Linked DNA regions of Homo sapiens: region 1 is linked to region 2. Evidence: promoter capture Hi-C in human tissues and cell types (Jung and others, 2019). All regions are on one chromosome and are shown on one strand. The core of a region is centred on a gene start or on the middle of the fragment in contact, and the rest is flanking DNA. Distances in the headings are between cores, read along the strand shown. Region 1 has its middle 76 kb from the start of DSC3. Region 2 holds the start of DSG2 (desmoglein 2).

Evidence for each region. The method cuts DNA at HindIII sites, captures the fragments that hold promoters and counts their contacts. A contact is called where the count stands out against the background at its distance.
Region 1: a contact is called between a fragment that was not itself captured here and the fragment with the promoter of DSG2 in region 2, in 1 of the 25 tissues and cell types used here (aorta).

What each region holds. Positions count from the first base shown.
Region 1 is chr18:30,963,009-30,969,616 of GRCh38, reverse strand. No RefSeq gene overlaps it. Among named protein-coding and RNA genes, the nearest start is that of DSC3, 76 kb to the left of the region's middle. The HindIII fragment of the contact is 3,254 bases long and covers 357-3,610 here.
Region 2 is chr18:31,496,610-31,503,311 of GRCh38, reverse strand. DSG2 (desmoglein 2) reads right to left here and starts at 5,135. Exons shown (of 15, transcript NM_001943.5): 1 at 5,016-5,135. The coding sequence starts at 5,060. RefSeq lists enhancers at 2,781-2,890, 5,606-5,745 and a silencer at 4,936-5,405. The HindIII fragment of the contact is 8,335 bases long and covers 3,236-6,702 here.

The sequences.
Region 1 (6,608 bases), core at 734-3,233, 530 kb after region 2:
TATTGGTCATTGTATTAATTGTGAAACCAATTAAAGTCATTAGTATATACCAGGAAGTTTTCTGTTGATAGTTCTATTTTACATAGCTATGATGAGGTTTAGCGTGTAGCTCAAACTCATAAAGGAAATAAGTTGAAAGAAAGGATTCTGAACTATTGATTCAGTTTTATGTTTAATTACTCATTCATACAGCCCTGGATATTACATTTCAGAAAACGTTAATTATTATAATTTTCATATGAAATACTTATTCCTGGCACTTTTATGTTAAAGTATTAACAAACCATGGCTTTGTCTGATTGAAAGGAAAGCTGAGATACAAACCCGCTAAAGTTTATTTTCCCTCATTTATAACTTCTAGTTACCTACTAAATGAGGACATTATTTGTTAAATACTACTGTGTTGAAAATCTAGCTGGGAAGAATATTGCCACTAAATAAGCCTTCTATCTTTGGAATACAGGTTGAATTTAGTAAACATCATATTAAAATGCAGTCATCTTATCAATTATAAGTACATAGTTACCATCATGACTTCAGGTTATATTTAATTTCCCTCTAGGAGGAAAAAGTTATATACATAACAGATGAAAAAGGTAAACAACCACTTACTAAGTAAATAACATAAAGCAATTCTCCATCAAAGCCTCAGTAATTACTTTGTGGAACAGGCTGCCCTTAATAAAATAATTAATTAATTTTTCCAAATGAATTATGCAAGCCAATATTTTTTCTTCATTAATGTTTTGTTGAAGTAATTAAGTTTTATTAATGAATAACAAAGAAGGAATTGGGTCTTTATTCTAACTGCTAGATATTAATGTGCTTAACTTGAACTAAATGTGTTTCCAGTATGTAATCAAATTTGAATCAATCAAGTCAATTTACCAGTCAAATGTCCTTTTGGAGCTCCAGCTGCTTCCTGTGAAGGCTCTTCACAGAGAACATGCAGAAAGTGACCCAGAAGACTCTGTGGTTCTGCCAAGTATCACATCAATTCTTAATTACAATCCGCTTGATTTTCTAAAGGACGCTACTGGTGCCTCACACAGAACTCTATTATCTGATTCTAATTATGATGAATTTGGATAAAAGCTTAAAATTCATCAGTGTAAAATAAATGACTATTAGCTGAGATGTCGGTTTCCTCTCCAAAGAAGTAAGAGGACAGAAAAAGTCATGCTGGTCTTAGCTCTACAAGAGTATGAATGCAGGCAGGTATTACCATTCAATTTCCATGAGATGTATGGCCTACAATTCTTAAAAGGGTATCTGAGGCCGGGTGCAGTGGCTGATGCTTGTAATTCCAGCATTTTGGGAGGCCAAGGCAGGCAGATCACCGATGTCAGGAGTTTGAGACTAGCCTGGCCAACATGGTGAAACCCCGTCTCTACCAAAAATAAAAAAAATAGCCAGGCATGGTGGTGCGCACTTGTAGTTCCAGCTACTCTGCTTGGGAGGCTGAGGCAGGAGAATTGCTTGAACCTGGGAGGCAGAGGTTGCAGTGAGCCGAGATCGTGCCACTGCACTCCAGCCTGGGCGACAGATTGAGACTCTGTATCAAAAAAAAAAAAAAAAAAAAAAAAAAGGGTATCTGAAAAAGAGTGACAAAACTCATTTTGTTTACATATCATTGCTGTCTACCTGGAAACAAAACGTATTGGTTACTGAATACTTTACACATGACATCATGATACAGTCTTACTCCTGAGACAAAGCCTGAGCTCACCCTTATATAATCTGTGGAGTATCTGAATAGGAACACATTCTCCAGATACCTGTATTTGTTAGTGGGTATGTGTTGCTTAAGTACCGGTATTTACTGATAACTGAAGTTGTTTTACTTGGTAGTTTTCAAAGCAAATCAATAGATTTAATGCAATTCCTATCCAAATTCCAGTTCTCACATATGCATGCATCTGTGTTTGTGTGTGTGTGTGTGTGTGTGTGTGTGTGTAGACATAGACAAACTTATATTAATACTAAGATTTTTACGGAAAGGCACAGGCACTAAAACAGCTAAAAATATCTTACAGCTTTTCTGTCTTGTGATTTACCTAGTGGACAGACTTCATTGCTACTACTCCTATGAAGGTTATGTTTTGCCATCACTGGGGTCTGGGTCTCTTTCCGTCTTACTCTCCTTAGAGCAGGCCAGCATTCTTTGAATCAACAGAAGCTCCACTCTACAGAGGTGACTGTAACACCAGTGATATTTCTCACTTGTCTCCATTTTTTAGAAAGAAACTTCCACATTTCTCATCAATACAGCTTTCTATTTTCCAGCTTGGTAGTCCTGAAATGAAGCATCAAAAGTTTTTAATTATGGGGCACCACACAAAAGATGATGATAGCATATCAAAATCAACATTTTACTTCTGAAAGAGCAATGAGTGCTTTGAGGTTCATTTAGGAAAGCTTGAGCAGTTCAAGTTTGGTTGTGTTTATATTATGACATTTATGATGACAAGCCATCTGGATGAAAAGTAGAAGTTCTGTGAATTAACCAGATGTGTCCAAATATCTGAATTTGCAGCATCAAAAGACTGACAGTTTTTATCTGAAGCTAATTAGCTCTTGCCTGACTGTCAGATTGGAGGATTATTACACCATCAATGGTGTGCATCTCTCAGGTGACATTTAGCTATCATCCCTTGATTGTAAAGAGTTGGTAGAGAGCCACTAAGAGTGGGGTCTTGGGAGTTAGACAACACCTGGCTTGAATCCTACTTCTCTCACCTGTTAGCTGGGCACCTTTGAGCGGACTATGAAACTTCACTCTTCAAATTATGAAAAATCTACAGTACAAAGATTTTAATCATGAATACCTTCTAGAGTGGATATGAGAGTTAATGCAATATAGGCATCATCTGGCATAAAGTATTAAATATGAGGTATAATTATTACATGCATTGGCTTTTTAAGTGTATAGATTTAGGGGTATGAGGGTAGCTGTGTTACATGGATATATTTCACAGTGGTGATATGGGGTTTTTAGTGTATCCATCACCCAAATAGTGTACATTGCACCCAAGAGTGAATGCATGCCTTTTTATCCACCTATATTAATGTTTTAACGGCAAGGACTAATTTAATATCTTCCGCAGTGCCTAATATGCAGAAAGTACTCAGTAAATATTTGTTATATTTGATAAATAAGTGTAACAAAATGCTATGTTACATCAGTTACTCCTTTCAGTATAGATTAGGTTTTTAAGTCCTCCAAGTTCCACCTCTGAGAGCTTCCATAAACTGATTAGTAGTGCCTTCTTTAGATAAGAAAGTCACAGCAGACACACCTCTTAGAAGAGTAGTTGAGAAAACTCAAAATTTTTTACTCTCAAAATTAAAAACGATGTCAAAATAGTTCATTTTACTTTCTATTACTGTGGATAAAAGTCTTTCCACTATCGATGAGAACAGTGGGGTTTAGAAATTTGCTGAAAGTTGCCCTGATGACAAATAGAAGTGGGATGTGAACTAGGTGTTGTCTAACTCCCGAAGGCTCCACTTTAACTCCTGGCCTCTATTAATACCTCACAATCAAGAAGTGATGGCTAAATGTCATCCGAGCGACACATGATTAATGGCATAATAATTCCTCAATCTTACAGTCAGGCAGGAAACTAATTATCTTAAGATAAAAATTTAGTCAGTCTTTTGATGAAAATTTGGATATTTATACATTATCACATTATATGGGAAAGGCACATCTTCAAATTATAGAACACGTCATTTTAATCAAGTTTAAGAGAAATATGTATGAATTTTACTTTATTCCTTCGTATATGCATTCCATATATACTTACGGTCTCTGAAGCTCTGGAGATGCAGAAGGGAATTACATGCTTCTTGCTTCCAATTTGTAGACTGATAGAGTTAGGAATAACAAAAAATAATTAGAATATAACTATAATGTGGTATTGTAGATATGCACTAAATGTAAAAGTGGCAAAGAGATGGAGTGATGAGGTCTACCACAGGGAGGTAAGGGTAAGGTCTGGATAGGCATAACAGAGAAGGTGATGCTTAAATTGAGTATGCAAAGAGTAGATCTTCAGCATCAGGACCAAGAAGGCCACTGCAGAGAAAGGGAGCATTAAAAGCAAAGACGATGGCACAAAACCCCATGGTCCATTTGATGAACTGCAAATAACTCAGTTGGTTGCGACACAGAAGAGTACAAGGGGAGCACAGGCTATGGCGAGAAAAGGCCTTGGATAAATAAGCAGGGGGCAGATGTTGAACTGTGCAGACTCAGTGCTGGAGCCAACAGTAGCCAGTGAAAGTTCTTACATACAGATTTTAAGAAAGATCACTCTATTGGAAATAAGGAGGGCTGGAAAGACCGAAGACAGAGGAACTAGTTTAAGGACTATTATAATCATGTAGTTAAAGGGCGATTTTGGCTTAGATAAATGGTTCTTCGTTCTGGCTACATAGTGAAACATCTTGGGGATCTTTTTAAACTTACAGATTCCTGGGCTCCACTCTGGATGAATTAAATCAGAATCTGGAGGTCTAGAACCTGGCATTGGTATTTACAAAAAAAAACCCCAAGGGATTGTACTATGCAGCAAGTTTTGAGAACCCACAGCTCAGCTTATGATAGTTACATCAGAGATAAAGAGTGGGAGTTGAATTTGAGGCATTTTTAAGGTGTGAATTTCAGAGCAGTGTATATACATTACTGTATGTAAGAATACCCAGAAGATCTTGAAAACTACAGATTCCGAGTCAATAGGTCTGAAGTGAGGCCTGAGATTCTGCATTTCTAACAAGCTCCCAGGTGATGTCAAAGCTTCTTGTCCTTAGACCATACCTTGTGGAGGAGGATTATGCATTTTGCATAGGGGAGAGAGGGAGAAAAAACATCAAGAATGATTTATTAATTCTGACATTGGTGACTAAGGGAATCTGATCATAAGAATTTAGAGAAAGATCATGAACTCAGTTTTGAACATATTGAGTGTAAATGTGCCCATGAAAAATCTGAGAGAACATGCAAGTTCTATAGCTTGGAGGAGGTGTCTGTACAGGAGACAAAGATGTGTGCATCATCAGCCTTCTGAGAACAGTTGAACCACAGGAGTTGATAAAAATGCCTGGGTATAGTGTGGAGTGTGAGGTGGGCTAAAGACAGATCCTGAGAAAAGTAAGAAGAGAACACTAAGGTGAAAAAATAAGATTTTTCCAGGATATAGGAGGATAACCAGTAGGATGATATGTCATAGAAGCCAAGGGAAGAGAGAGGAATTCAATAAGAGAGCAATCAACTCTGACAAAGTCTGCTTGAGAGTCCCCATAAGATTACTGAAAGAGGCCCATGCAATATCGCAATAAAGAGGTCACAGATGAACCTAGTGAGAGTGGCTCTGGAGTCCTTGTTCTGGAAAGCCGACCACTGTGAGTGGACAAGTGGATGAGTACCTGGAGGCAAAGAAGTATTAAAAATAGGACCGTATTTCTTAGCCATGCTGCCTGGGCTGTGGAGGGAAGAGGAAGAGATAGATGGTAGAGGTAGTCTCAGGGGGCTAGGGAAGGTTTCTTTTTGTTTTCTTGGTTTTTTTTTTTTTTTTTTTCCTTTTACTAACTAGATTTGGCATTAATTTTGATCATCTCTCTTTCTAAGAGTAGGTTTATTATCTCTTTTATTTGATTTCGGCCTGACTCATTATCTTAGTTTACACTCTGCTCCTAGTTTAAGTCATTAAATACATCCTTAACATCTTCCTGTTACTAATTCTGTCCTTAGTTTTGAGTATAAATTGTTCACAAATGGCCTTTAAATTCTTTCAACATTGACAGTCTACCCTGTTCCCTGGTTCCCAGCTTCCCTGACTATTTTTGTTGCCTCTTCTCATGCAAGTCTACCTCAGAACATCTGTTCTCAGTACTTTCTTTGTCTCTACTGAACCTGAGCTGGTAGTAATTTCCTTACTCAGGGCTGCTCTTTTTACCCAGAGTTCTATAATCTAACACATTACAACAGATTTTTGTCCTTGATTGTATATCAGAATCACTTTAAAAATACAGATGACTGGGCTTCACCCAAAGTCATTTAAATCAGAGCCCCTGAGGTGGGCCTTGGGCCCCAGCATGTATTTCTTGTGTGTGGTTGATGTGGTGCAGAAAGTGCTACCCCAAAATAGGGCTCTTTGGCATTTGAGGAACCAGCAGAAGCAGGAAGGCCACTCTCACTCTTCCTCCTCCATTATCCCCTGAAGCAGGTCATAAGACCTAGGAAACCTCTCCCATCTATTCCGCTGCTTCTCCTCTGAACACCCTCATTTGAAAGGTGTCCTGCCCTAAAACCGGAGGAAAGGCATGTCACTCAGAAACACCAAGAAGGATCTGGACAAACAAACCTTGTCAACTTCCCTTCAATTTCTTACCATTCAAACTTCTGCATGACTGTCCATAACAATACATGGTTTTCCCTGGGTCTTTCTGTCTTCATTTTTGAAGGCTGCCATGACATGAACAACTGCCTTTTGTCATGAGGAGTCAGCAATGCACCTTATGATGGGTGAGAAAAAAATCTGTTCTCCTCTACACAATCAGGTTTGAGAAGCACTGCTTTATAGGCGGTGGAACGTTGTTTCTTC
Region 2 (6,702 bases), core at 3,886-6,385:
ATAGTTGCTCCTTCTATAGGCTCCATGGTACTACGTTTCTCTATTATTACTCTTCTTATCGTTACCCATTTGGAAGTTAGCCATTTACTTGTTATACCATTCATTAGACTGTAAGCACCATGAGGGCAGAACATGTCTGGCTTTTTTATAGTTCTCCAGTGTTTAGCACATTGCCTAGCATCAAGCAGGGATTCACTAAATAGGGGTCATGTGTCTGGTTTCTTTTCTTATGGACATTTCTCATCTCACTATCGACCACGGTAGGAATTCTGTTGTTCCAGCTTCTTCACTCTAATCACCAAGCTTTGCATATGACAAAAACTTAATAAAAAACAAAACTGAGAAGATAGTTTCTCATCATATGTAGACTATATGTTTATAAATTGTTGTCAAAGCTATTGAAATCTGTGTCAGAGTGAAAGACAAGGGAAAAAAGCTGTGATTAAAAATTGCTCAAATAGATCTAAAAGTCCTTTATGCTTTCAGTTAAAGTTCCTTCCTTCCTTTCTTCCTTCCTCCCTCCCTCCCTTCCTTTCTTCCCTCCTTCCTTCCTTCTTTTTTTTGACAGAGTCTCCCTCTGTCACCCAGGCTGGAGTGCAGTGGCACAATCTCGGCTCACTGCAACCTCCGCCTTCCAGGTTCAAGCGATTCTCCTGCCTCAGCCTCCTGAGTAGCTGGGACTACAGGCATGTGCCACCACACCCAGCTAATTTTTTGTATTTTTAGTCGAGATGGGGTTTCACCATGCTGGCCAGGCTGGTCTCAAACTCCTGACCTCAGGTGATCCGCCCACCTTGGCCTCCCAAAGTGCTGGGATTACAGGCGTGAGCCACTGTGCCCAGCCTAAAGTTTCTAATTTTAAATATAATTTGGCAGTTTTCAAAAACACTTATCCCTATTCAATGTGTAATTTTTCCCATGTAAATTTTTCTATGTCATAAATATAGATTTTTTTGCAAAATATAGACCAGTAATTCTCACGCTTACACTTGTCTGACAATTAGATCAATTGGGAAGTTTCTATAAATACATATTTATATTGTAGTGAGCCCGCCCCAGGGCTCACTACACTCACACACCACAGAATATTAGCCTTGGAAACTTTAATTTAGCTTATCGGGGATTTCTAATAATCAGAGAGTACGTAGGCCAATGAATGCTCATATCTCTTTGTAAAGTACTTGCCTTAAGTTATAATTAAAGAAAATTTCTGTTAAGAGCTGCCATTTTCCCATTACCTACTAACTTTTAGAAACAAAAACCAGTAAGAAATCCATGTTTCTAAAATCCTTGGATATGATAATTGATTATTCTTATGGCTTCAATATTCACCATCTAATTTATACTTTAATGTATTCTTTAATATATATTATTCAGTTGTATATTAGAACACTAAGCATAACTCTGATATTATTGATAATTTATAGATACTTGAATCCACTTGTTATGGATCAAATTATGACCCCTAAAAGATAATATATTGAAGTGCTAACCACCAGTACCTCAGAATGTGAGCTTATTTGGAAATAGGGTCTCTGCAGATTTAACCAAGCTGAGGTCATTATTTTGGGGCATAATCCAGTACAACCGATGTTCTTATAAAATGGGGAAATTTGGACAAGGACACAGACATGCACAGAGGGAAGATGATATAAAGAGACAAAAGAGAGAATGCCATGCGCAGATGGAGGATTGGAGTAATGAATGCACCTACAAGAGAAGGAATGACAAAGATTGCCAACAAACCAGTATGCACTTGGAAGAGGAAAGGAGGGAAACTGGTTTCAGAGGGAGCATGGCCCTGCCCATATCTTGATTTTGGATTTCTAGCCTCTGGAACTGTGAGATCATACATTTTTGTTGTTTTAAGCCACTCAGTTTTTAGCACTTCGTTACAGCAGTCCTAGCAAACTAATACCCTACTAAATATATCTGCTCACAGTGTGATCTGCTATCATTGAATCCTTAAAATGTAGTTTGATTTTAAAGCACAAGCTTCATTAGTCGAACCCAAAATTGAAGCAACCATCAGGAAATCTCTCACCCACGAGCCCTCCTTGGCAATCTGGCGAGGCCTATGAACCCCTTCTCAGATTAATGATTTCAAATGTATAAAATAAAATACAGGGGATTATCAATGAACCCAATTATATTGAAATAGTTATCAGCATTTTTAAAATACCAATTTGTGATGCAGCAGTATCATGTATTTTATTAACATATTAAGTAAAAGATCTAGTAGAAAGTCTATTAGTGATGTTCAGAATAAATGGTATTTTGAGATCACCATAAGATGTAAAGGTATTTATGAATTCTATTGTGATAGTCACAGCTACTGCTCACACTACTGTGCAGTGTCTTCCCCACACTCATAATTTAAAGAAATACTAAATTTCAGTCCGAAGTTAGTTAAAATATATATGTAATTAATTCCTTGCCATCTCTAGGAACTCTTTGAATTCTATCTGTGAACCATTTGGGAGTTGATGGATTGCAAAGAACCCTTGAAGAGGAAATATTCTCTGATTTTATTCAGAAAATTATTTCTTTTTCCCATTTTGATACAGCTGGCCTAAATGTTTGATAGCTATGTGGGTGACACAGCTACCTTCTGGTGTGTCTCCCTGCACTGCTGAGGAAAGCGAAAGACCATGTGTCACAGACTCCACTGCAGGCTTCGTTCTGAATGGGGTTTGGGTTCAATTAGTATTTACATGAGATTTGAAAGAAGGAAGTGAAACAGAGCTCTGTGCCTCCTGGCAAGCAGATATGGACGTATGGAGCTGGGTTCTTTGTAGTCATCTTATTATGGCTCTAGTGTCCAGCTACTAGATTTGTGAACACCAAGAGGCAAGGTACAAGCATCCATGTTGTTATGCATCCTAGCAGATGTGGCATGCATGGGTCTGCAGCTGGTAGCAAAAGTAGCACCCTGATCACAGCAGTTTTTCAGACTGTGGGAGTGGCAGTGCAGTTCCTGGTCACAGGAGAGGCAGCAGCTCCCTAAGCGGTGTGGCTCTGCTGTGTGGCTTTGAAGTCATTACTGACAGCTCAAATGGCAGTCTTCTCAATCCTTCCTACACTTAGGTAGTCAGTTTAGTGCCCCGAAATAAACCTATTCTTGCTTTAAATAGCTAGAGTAAATTCCGTTATTTGCAACTGAACTCTGATCTAACAGACTACAATTTATATTCCTTCCAATAAAGGACCTGTTTCCTTGGCAACTACTTCTGTCAGATGAGTTGCTTTCCATTTTTTTTTTTTTTTTTTTTTTTACCAAAAAACTGCAACTGCAAACACACTGGGGGTAAAATGCTGCATTGCCCACTACTCTCTGGACAAAAATAAACATATTCAAATTTATACTGCAGAAAGTTTTATAGAAAATACATAGAACAGTCCAAGAATTTTGCTCCTGTTCCATTGGCTATAGTCGCTTTCTAAAGGAGATGTTTATTACTGCCCAATAAGGTAAAAGTATCAAATTGCTAAAATGAAAGATATGCCTAATTTGCTTACCTGCTACTCTGTGAGTGTACAAATTGGCCTGATTGCTACATTATTTGAAGATTAAAGGTCATTTATTTTCATATATGGAAAGAATATGTAACTCTCAAAGTAAGCTAGGTGTTACATTAGCTTGGGATTCTCCTTAAACAAGGAAACATCAAGGTGACAGGATTAGTTGTTTTGCCAGCCCAGAGGCTAAAAACGACGTCCCAGATCACGTCTTAGAAAAGTTTTGTCAACAAAATGAATTTTCATTGAAAGTTACCTCAAGGACACGGGGAAAATGAAATGGATAAATAGAGCATGAAAATGAACTGTGTGCTAGGCCTGGACGCCCTAATTATCATGCTCTTCCACCTGAGAGTTCATGGAAATCTCTAGACTGGATTCAGTCACGCCTTTTTCCGTTTTGAGACACACACACACACACACACACACACACACGATTTTCTTCCACATCCCACCAAAACTCGAGGATAGAAGGGCTCATGTTTTGGAAGTTAGAACTTTGAATATAGTGAATGTATTTGCATTTTTAATTATTACGTAAGAAAACTGAGTATGATTTTGCATCTAATCTCTGTAAACACATATTTGTGAACTCTCTGGAAGGTGAACTCACACCTATATTTGCAGCATAACTGTCACTTTATTAAAACCCCTTTAGTAAACCCCTATAAGCGAGATACATACGTGCAACCCCTTAAACAAACAGAAAACCAACAGTTTAAAATCCAATTTGAGCAAAAGAACTCTAAATCCAGGGACTGAACGTCGTTTCCGGGAGTGAGGGGTGGGGCGTGGGGGAGGGGGCGCTACACTTCCATTTTCTGTAACCTTTTAAATGAATAAGGCTTCAAACTATTACATATGTTTATTATCTTTAATATTGGAAAACTTTTGAAACACCAACTTCATAAACTTTAAGTTAAAACTATATGTGGGTGATCCACTTAAAATTAAGCTTTGTAAATTACACCTTTTTAAAAAATTTTTAGCCAACTTTTTGCACTCTAAGAATACAAGTATGTTCCTGGTTTCCCCAGTTCACTGGCTTGTGTCGGCGGCTAGAGGAGCTGGGGAATCCTAGGGAAATTTAAGGAACGTGGAAGAAGCGCGAGGTTGTTCCCTATTGCCTCCACGTTTCTCGTCCCAGAGACTCTCAACAAAGCCTCCGACCCCCAGCAATGGTGTTCCCCGCCCCAGGGCTCACTACACCCACACACCACAGAAAAGGGCGCTGGGGCCTGGGTGACGCGGGAAGGAAAACACAACTTCGATAGGTCGCAACTTACTCTCCTGGCTCCAGCCAAGAGGATTTTCCGAAGCCCCAGGTCGGATCTCGCCGCAGCCTGCCCGGCCCTTTTCCCCCCTCGGGCAGCAGGAAGGAGCGCCGGGCAGGTAACGCGCACAAGGGCGGCGGGCAAGTCTGGTCGCGAGGTCTAGACCTCGCCTACCGACGCCCTCCCCGGCGGTGGCTCCCCTGTCCCGCTTGCGGCACTTACCAGGAGAAGCAGCAGGGCGTACGCGCGTCCCGGGCTCCGCGCCATCGCACCCTCGCCTCCGCCTCCCGCCGCCGCACCGCTCCGCGCCGCCGCCTGCCCCGAGCGCGCACTCGGCTCCTCCCTGGCCCCGGCCTCCCCCCGGCCCGGCCACCCTCTCCCTCCCCGCCCCGAGGGCTGTCTTCCCGTGGCGGTTGCGCGGCCCAGCCCAGCCCAACCCAAAGGCGCGGCTCCAGGTGTGGCCGCCGCGAGAAAATGGAGCCGGGGGCCGGCCCGGGCCGCTTTTACAGAGGTGGGGAGTTCAGCAGAGGAGGGAGGCGCGGGGTGGACTCCCGCCCGCTCGCACTCGCACCTGGGACCGTGACGTCCTTGGGTTGGGGACTGTGGGTGGCAGGCCCCGCCCCGCCGTTCTCTCCTTCCCGACCCCCTACTCTCTGGAGAATGGCGGGAGGAGGGAGCCTCCTGGCGGGGCTCGACCTGGGTAGCGCGGGTCGCAGGGCCCCGGCCCAAGGACAAAAGCTCCACGGAGCAGAGTCCTGCGGGACCAACCGGCCCAGTGGCTGCGGGGCCAGGCCGCCCAGCACCGCCCAAAGGTCCCGCACTTTGTGATTGTGCTTTGGGCCCGGAGCGCAGGTGTCGCTAGTGACATGGGGACCCGTGTCCTCAGGAAAGCTGCGACCGCGGTGCGTTCGGCCCGCTCTCCTGGAGCGGAGGTTGTGGAGCAGAATTTCAGGTGGCTGTCTCCCCAAAGGCTGCTCTTCCCTATGGCCCTTCACTGCTTCCAACAGGTTTGCAGCTTATCTGGCTCAAGGAGAAACAATCACCAGAGGTCAAAAAGGACAATTCTTGGGCTAGGAGAAAACTCTAGGGTGTTACGGGAAATATATATATTCTTTGAAATGATTTACAATTTCTATTACACCACTAGCTAGATCAGAGGCCCCGCTCCAAGAGTGACTAGCTGAGTGGCCTGGACTAGCCTCTCTGGGCCCCAGTTTCCAGATCTGTCAAATGGAGTTAATAGCGACCAACGCACGGGGAAGTTTTGAGAACGAAATTGGAAAATCTTAGGTAAAGCATTCTGCAGTGTCTAGAACTTAAGGGTTCAATAAATAATTGTTAAAATTAGAACAACGTGATTGCGAGGTGAGATGTTAAATTGACATCTTGAAAAGCAGAAACTTAGTATGGGCATCCAAACACTAGAATCAGCACCGGATTACGAAACTTCCAAGAAATGTAACGACTGAAAGTAATGGACGAGCCTATTGTTCTGTGCGAGAAAGGCGCAAGGGGAGAAGAAAAGACACACACACCATACTTTTAAGGGTAAACAACCTTTATCCCAATTAAATGGCAACGCGGATATAATAAGCAAATGATATAATAAGCAAATTGCAATGGGAAGGGGAGAAGGAAAAGATATATTTATAGGTACACTCACCAGACTGTGGAGGATTCACCACCACACCGGGAAGCAACAGCCTGGGCTCCAGAGTCGGACACTACACTCACCAGACTACAGAGGATTCTCATGAAGTTTCCTCATGGTCTGGGACCCTAGCTCTTATCGTAACAAGTTGTTTGGCATGAGACCCAGTCACAAGGGCCCTTCCCGACTGGACTCAAGGAACACAAAAAGGTCAACTTGTGTTTGCGATTGTCTGTTGTGTTTCAATAACTAACAAAT